Regions from separate parts of the Homo sapiens genome. Here region 1 is linked to region 2. The links are contacts of gene promoters, found by promoter capture Hi-C in human tissues and cell types (Jung and others, 2019). All regions are on one chromosome and are shown on one strand. The core of a region is centred on a gene start or on the middle of the fragment in contact, and the rest is flanking DNA. Distances in the headings are between cores, read along the strand shown.

Region 1 (3,929 bases), core at 294-2,793, 62 kb before region 2:
CTCATATGTTGCATTCCAAAATTAAGTAAGCTACTTTCATTGCATGTTTTTCATTCTCCATTATTTTAAGAACAAATCTGTTTATGCTCTATATATTACAACAGAAAATATTTGAATTATTGTCATAATGTTTCATCAAGCTATACCACTTGAATTAAACATCAAGTAATTTTGAAAAAGTACAATTTAACATAAATTCATCTTTTCAGAAAGGTATTTTAAAAGTCTGTTTTCTCAAACACTGAGAAGGGAACTCAAGGATTACCCTGATGATTCTCACGGTGTTATAATAACAGTGTGTTTTACTATTACTAAATAAGCTTTCAATGCAAACTGATGACAGTTACCTCACATTTATAACGACATATGTAAAATGCAAATTTCACAAAGCCAAATATTTTACTGGAAATTTCGAAGGTGGCAAAACTGCCTTCAAAAAGCTGAACTCTAGACAAGCATGGTGGCGCGTGTCTGTAATCCCAGCTACTTCGGAGGCTTAGGCAGGAGAATCACTTGAACCCAGGAGGCAGAGGTTGCAGTGAGCTAAGATTTTGCCACTGTACCCCTGCCTGGGCAACAGAGTGAGACTCTGTCTCCAAAAAAAAAAAAAAATTGAACTCTTAATTATTAATAAGAAATCTTTTTTAGAAATACAAGGGTTGGCCGGGCACAGTGGCTCACATCTGTAATTCCAGCACTTTGGGAGGCCACAGCGGGCAGATCACAAGGTCAAGAGATCGAGACCATCCTGGCCAACATGGTGAAAGCTCATCTCTACTAAAAATACAAAAATAAGCCGGGCGTGGTGGCGTGCACCTGTAGTCCCAGCTACTCGGGAAGCTGAGGCAGGAGAATCACTGGAACCGGGGAGGCAGAGGTTGCAGTGAGCCAAGATCGTGCCACTGCACTCCAGCCTAGCAACAGAGCAAGACTCCATCTAGAAAAAGGAAAAGGAAAAGGAAAAAAAAAAGAAATGCAAGGGTTACAATAAAAAGCCAAACTGAAAGTTACATTTGTTCACATACTCAAAGTGTAAAAAGAATAAAGTCCTATGGAGAATACCATCTTTCATAATCTGTGTTAGGCACAAACTTAGCCTCTCTCCAGAGTATTATGATTCCAAGTCACAAAATTATGATGTTCTTACCTGGCAAAAACACCAACACACTGCTTCGCTCCAACACAAACTGGGCCCCCGACCAAGCCTTGTTCCTGTTAAAAATGTGATGTGCACAAATATTAATGAAGGCTAATAACAGCTATTGCTTCTCTAAAATCCTAATATTACAGGCTTTTAATCCTGAAAGGCTCTTACAGGTCATCCAATGTAATGTTCCTTATTTTACATAAGAAAACACGAAGCCCAAAAAGATGAGAAAACATCCAAGGCCCCATGGTCATTCAGGGGACTTAAGCCTTTTGACTCCCAATACTTTCTCCTATCAAAACTTACTATCTGCAGAAGTTTTCCTTGAAATTTAGTTATTGTAATCAAGAACTTCAAAGTAAAAAACATTTAAAATAACTACAAGCAAAATTTAAATGTTCATGAGTCCAAACTATTAGAAAGGATTTGTACAGACCAAAATCTCAAATCATCTACTTGCCTCCTTGCTATTGTCAATATATTTACTTTTGTGTGAATTTAGAACTTTCATTCTTCCATGAACCTGTGAGCCCTTCCTACATGCCAGGCCCTCCTCTGTGTAAGATACAGCAGTAACAAGAAGACAAGCTCCTTGCTCTTTGGAGCTTACATTCTAACTGGAGAGACAGACAGGAAACAAGAAAACAGACAAGGCACCTTCAATTTAGCAATAAGACCTAAAGAGACACACAGGGAAACACAGTAAGCAGTGCTAAGGGAGGTGCATGTATGGAGTGCTCTCAGGAGGGCTGGCTGGGAAGGGCCTCTCTGGGGAAGTAATGGGAGGTGAGGAGGGAGCCATGGAAAAGCCATGCAGTGGCAATCCAGGCAATGCCTGGGAACAGTCACTACAAAGGAGAAAGGGGTGTGAGGGGTAAACCAGTCACTGCAGCACAGGCAGCTCAGCATCCATGGTCACTGCTCCTGCTGCTCCTCCATCTCTCCCTATGAGGGTGAGCCACACCTATGACCTCAGGCGGCAGCCACTACCATGAAAAACACAGCCTTGGTTTGTAGATGGGCCTGCATGGGATGCTGGCAACAACCAGGGGCGAACATCTGCTGCATCACAGCCCCACCCAGAGGAGAGGCTCACACACAGTGAGTGGGGAAGGGAGCTCTTCCCAGTTAGCAGAGGTGAGGCCGTCCATCTGGTGGTACCGCTTTGGGTGGAAGGAGACATGGCCATGAGGTTGGGTTCACCCCAATCAATAGGCAGAGGCTAATAGCTTGGTCAGCTGGTCAGGGATGTGGAAATGGCAAGACTGATAATAAGGAGATCTGATGGAGAGGTACCAAGAAATGCCCATAAGGCAGCCACAGTGGAGAAGGCTTTCAGTCACCAGACGGGCAAGAGGCCCTGCCTGTGGACGTGACCCAGCCTCCTTCTCCAGTCCCTCCAGGGTTGGAAAACGCACAGAGTGGACAGGTAGCAGGGATGAAGGCTTACACACAAACTCAACACCATGCACTTTCCTGAGATGAGACTCATCCGGCTGCTACCACTGCTGGATGCCAACCACACAACAGCAAGGGCCAGTGCCAAGTCCCAAATATGGCACCATTCCCTGGGGGACCAGCCCAGCCAGCTGATGACAGGTTGATTCCATCATGAAAAAGATACTGATTTGCCCTCATGGAAATAGATACAGATCCTATTCTGGATTCAGGTCTGCCTTCTCTGCACCTAAAGCTCCTGTCATACCCCCATCCATGGACCTAAAGATGCCTTTCTCGCTTCCATTATTTCCTGCACAGCATGGCCTCCTGCCAAGGAGCTCAGTTTAGTAGTCAATGGACTCATGAAATTCAATGGTATTACCATGCATCCAAAAGCAGGTGGCTTAAAAGAAAGATGAAAATGCCTATTAAAGGCTCAATTATTGTCCCAGTCCTACAGGAAGTCATAAAAGCCATAATGAAATTCAAAGACAAGGTGAAATCTTGCAAGCAGCAAGAGGATAATGACATGCCACATGCAAAGAAAACCCCAGTAAGATTAACAGCTGAATTCTCAGAAGAAACAATGGAAGCCAGAAAGCAGTGGGATGACATATTCAAAGTGCTCAAAGAGAAAACAACTGTCGATCAAGATTCCTGTATTCAGTAAAACTCTCAATAATGAAGACTAAATAAAGACTGTCCCAGATAAAAAAATGAGAGTATCTAGCAGACCCACCTTACTAGAAATACTAAAGGAAGTTTTTTTGTGCTGAAAACAGCCGACCCCAGAGAGTATTTCAAATCCACATGAACAAAGAAAGAGAACTGGTAAAGGTAATTAGTTAATAACAAAAGATACTGTAAATACATATTTTGCCTCCTTCCTTCTTAGGTGATTTTAAAAGTAACCGGATACAAAAATCAGCAGGGTGTGGTGGCACGCACCTCTAAGTCCCAGCTACTCACAAGGCTGAGGTGGGAGGATCAATTGAGCCAATGAGGTCGAGGCTGCTGTGAGCCATGATCACTCCACTGTACCCAGCCTGCTCAACACAGTGAGACCTTGTCTCAAAAAAAAAAAAAAAAAGTAAAATGCTACACTGCAAAATATGTGTTAAATGCAAAAGAAAGCAGTAAAAGAGAAACAGAGGAACAAAAAGAATATGAGACATCCAGAAAGCAAAAAGCAAAATGGCCAACATAAATTCAACTATATCAGTGACAAAATTAAATGTAAATGGATTAAACAACATAAATGGATTAAACAGCCCAATCAAAAGGCAGAGATTGTTAGACTAATTTTAAAAATACAGGCCAGGCGCGGTGTCACACCTATAAT
Region 2 (4,171 bases), core at 759-3,258:
TGACTCACACCTGGAATCCCAGCACTTTGGGAGGCCGACATGGGTGGACCACAAGGTCAGACCGACCTGGCCAACAAGGTGAAATGCTGTCTCTACTAAAAATACAAAATAAGCTGGGCGTGGTGGCACACGCCAGTAATCCCAGCTACTCGGGAGGCCAAGGCAGGAGAATCGCTTGAACCCAGGAGGCGGAGGTTTGTGGTGAGCCAACATTGCGCCACTGCACTCCAGCCTGGGCAACAAGAGCGAAACTATGTCTCAAAAAAAAAAAACCAAGAAAAAGAAAAACAAAACCACCTTCTCAACTGTAAAGCGTGCTGGACTTGGGGACTGAGCAAGAGTGACGGAGATACTCCAAGCTGGAAGTACTTCTCCCAGGGCCTTTTTAAAGAGCGAGAAGAGGGAGCAGGTGTTTCTACTCACCAAATCTACGTCTTTCCTCTAAAAACAGAGGATATACTCTTGCTTTTTATTTCCACCCAAATCAAGTGAACAGAGTAACTGATGGTAGCTACTTAAAGAATAGTGAGATGAGGAGGGAGTCTGTGAAACTTAACAAAGATTCAGCATTTGCACTCCTTGGTATTTACCCAATGAGTTGAAAACTTATGTCCACACAAAAACCTTGCCAAAACTTGGAAGCAGGCCGGGCGCAGTGGCTCACGCCTGTAATCCCAGCACTTTGGGAGGCTGAGGTGGGCAGATCACCTGAGGTCAGGAGTTCTAGACTAGCCTGGCCAACATGGTGAAACCCTGTCTCTATTAAAAATACAAAAATTAGCCAGGCGTGGTGGCATATGCCTGTAGCCTCAGCTACTCGGGAGGCTGAGGCAGGAGAATCGCTTGAACCTAGGAGGGGGAGATTGCAGTGAGGCGAGATGGCGCCACTCCACTCCAGCCTGGGTAACAAAGTGAGACTCCATCTCGGGGGGTGGGGGGAGAACTTGGAAGCAACCAAGCTCTCCTTCAGTAGGTGAATGGAGATAAACTGTGGTACATCCAGACAGTGGAATATTAATCAGTGCTAAAAGGAAAGAAGCTATCAAACCATGGAAAGGCATGGAGGAACCCCCAAATGCATACTAATACTAAGTGACAGAAACCCATCAAAAAGGCTACACATACTGTGTGATTCCAACTAGATGACAGTATGGAAAAGCAAAATTATGGAGACAGTAAAAAAATCAGTGGTTTCCACGTGGTGTAGGGAAAGGGAGGCAGGAACAGTGGGGCCGAGAAGATCTGTAGGTCAGTGAACTCTGTAATGCGTGACGTTAGGCGTTTGTCCAAACCCACAGAACGTCCAGTACGAGGCGTGAACCCTCCTGTAACGATGGCCTCCGGGTGACGAAGACGCAGCGATGCAGGTTCGCCGACTGTCACAAATACCCACACCTTACGCAGATGCTCACAGGGGAAACTCTGGGAGGGAAGGGGCCTATGGGACCTCTGCCCTCCGCTCCGTTATCCTGAAAACCTGAGTGCCTCAAAAACTAGTCTGTTAAACATTAAGAACTGAAAAAAAAAAAAAAAAAAAAACCTCTAGCTCAGCTTCCTTACAGGCACCGCTCTGGGCCGCGCGTCGGGTTGTGTAGTGACCACTCGCCCTGGACGGTCAGGGGTCCCTGGAGCCCCGCGAGAGGGCACGGGCTCGCGAGAAGGATCTGGATGGCCCGTGCCCTCGTCGCCAGGCCTCGCCCGGCCGCCCTCCAGCCGCCTCCGCCCCGCCCGCGTCCTACCTTTCGAACGCAGCGGCCGGCCGGGCCGGAGCTTGGGCCAGAGCCGGAGCCTGGGCCGCGGGACCAGCGCCGGGGGCCACGTCCTGGCGCTGCACCTCCTCCCTGGCCGCCCCTGCCGGGAAGGCGGGCGGCGCGCCCAGCAGCTCCACATTGGTCACCGTCTTGCCGATGGTGAACCAGTCGTTGATCTGCTCGATGGTGAGCTTCCGCAGCATCCTCAAGGCCCAGGCGTCGGCATCCCCCAACTGCCGGGTCTCCGCGGCGGGAACAGGCGACGGCGGAAGCGCACCCTGGAAGCCCCGCCCCCGCTCGAGGCCTTCCAATCAGAACGCGCCGCGCGCCCTTGTGGGCGGGCTCCGGCCCGGGCGCGTGCTGCCCGCGCTGCCTGGTCCTCGTGCCGCCGGCCCCGCCCCGCCGCGCTAGGCCTGCCGGGAGCCGCCGCCCCGAGCGAGCCCAGGGTGAGCCTTTCTAGGACCTCAGGGGAAGCTTGAGCGCCGCGGCTGGCCCGGGAGTCTGTTTCACGGGAGTTCCGTGGCAACCCCTGTGTGTACAAGAAAATGCCCTCCGGTCACTCCCTGGCCTCTCTATTTAGAGGCTGCTGCCTCGGAGGTTTGTGCGCTTTGAGCGGACCGGGACCCTACATACGTTTCTTGAGCACCTCAGGGTGAGGAGATGGAAGGCAAACCAGAGAAGGGATTTGCGTTCGTGGGTCAGACGTACCAGGACATCCTTGCACCTAATATGGGGGGAGAGGGGCAAGAAGAAGGTCAGGAAGGTCTCGGAGAAAGTAACGCCAGGCAGACCCCTGCAGGATACGGGGGAATGCGCCAGACGGAGGACCACCCAGGGTTATAGGGGAGGGCAGGCGGCCCTGATGGCTGAGGTGAGGATCTGGGAGAAGTTCTTTGCAGCCGGATCATAACTGAATTCATCTTCCTTCCTAAACCGGTGTCTCAGGCGGCGGTGTCAGACTCACAGCTGGACACAAACAGGTGCGGACAGGAGGTCCAGGCGATCACATGGACCAAAGATACAGGCTGAGGTGGTCCCGGCCGAGCTCTAGAAGAGTGAGGGTGGAGAACAGAGCCCTAGCAAACTCCCCAAAAGAAGGAGCCGCGGGAAGAAATCAACAAAGGATGCACGGGAAGGCAGCCACGTGTGCAAGGGAAGGGAGGGTCAGAAGAGAGACATGGCCACCTGCCTGGGGTGTGTCCCCCTCACTGGCCAGGGCAGGATCTATCTGGCCCATGTGGGCTCTCAGGAAAGAGCCATGTGAACAAATACAGAGACGGTATCGAGAGCATGGCTCTAATCAGCAGTGTAAAGCCCAAGCAGTGGCAAATAAGAGGGCGGTTTGAAAACACTGTAGACAGAAATCAGGCAGGTAGGTTGAGCTATTGGTGTCTCAAAAATTGAACCCATAATCATACTAAGCCAGGAGTTCTGGCTCCAAATCCTGGCATAATGAGCTCTAGACCTCATATTAGGACTCTGCCAAATACGACAGGTTCCCAAAAGTGCCTCAACACACTTTGCCAGGAAGAAATAACTTGCTTTTCTTTTTTCTTTTGAGGCAGGGTCTCACTCCTGTCGCTGAGGCTGGAGTGCCGTGCTGCAATCAGGGCTCACTGCAGCCTCAACTTCGGGGGCTCAGGTGATGCTCCCACCACAACCTCCTGCATAGCTGGAACTACAGGCTCACGCCACCACCACACCGGCTAATTTTTTATATTTTTAGTACAGACAGGGGTTTCGCTGTGTTGCCCAGGCCAGTCTCAAGCTCCTGGGCTCAAGCAATCTGTTTGGGAGCCCTTGGCCTCCCAAAGTGTTGAGACTACAAGCATGAACCACCATGCCCAGTCATGTTTTTCAAAAAATAAGAAAAAAGGTAATCATAAAGTAATTGAGACTCATGGTATGTCATTCAGCATTGATTGGAAAATATTGTAACTTCACACTGTATGTGGAGGCTAGGACATAATTCAAAATTTTACAAAATATATTGAAACCACTTGAAGCAACTCCAGAACTCACACTTGTTTTGTTTTGTTTTTTGTTGTTGTTTTGAGACGGAGTCTTGCTCTGTCACCAGGCTGGAGTGCAGTGGCGCGATAGCTCACTGCAACCTCTGCCTCCCAGGTTCAAGCAATTCTCCTGCCTCATCCTCCGGAGTAGCTGGGACTACAAGCATGCACCACCATGGCTGGCTAATTTTTTGTATTTTAGTAGAGACGGGGTTTCACCATGTTGGCTAGGAAGGTCTCAATCTCCTGACCTCATGATCCGCCCGCCTCGGCCTCCCAAAATGCTGGGATCATAGGCGTGAGCCACCGCGCCTGGCCTGTTTTTCTAGGATGTTGCTGTTACCGTGTGCTGTCATCCTTTGTTGATGTCACAATGAATACGATTTTAAGTGGAAGATGCTTTTCAAA

The links. Contacts are between HindIII fragments. The study calls those that stand out against the background at their distance.
Region 1: a fragment that was not itself captured here is called in contact with the fragment with the promoter of TDRD9 in region 2 in 5 of the 25 tissues and cell types used here (H1 embryonic stem cells, heart left ventricle, lymphoblastoid cells and 2 more).

What each region holds. Positions count from the first base shown.
Region 1 is chr14:103,988,443-103,992,371 of GRCh38, reverse strand. TDRD9 (tudor domain containing 9) reads right to left here. Exons shown (of 36, transcript NM_153046.3): 9 at 1,148-1,212. Among named protein-coding and RNA genes, the nearest start is that of RD3L, 48 kb to the right of the region's middle. The HindIII fragment of the contact is 6,052 bases long and covers 1-3,929 here.
Region 2 is chr14:103,926,293-103,930,463 of GRCh38, reverse strand. It overlaps TDRD9 (tudor domain containing 9), which reads right to left and starts at 2,008. Exons shown (of 36, transcript NM_153046.3): 1 at 1,740-2,008. The coding sequence starts at 1,954. The HindIII fragment of the contact is 10,851 bases long and covers 1-4,171 here.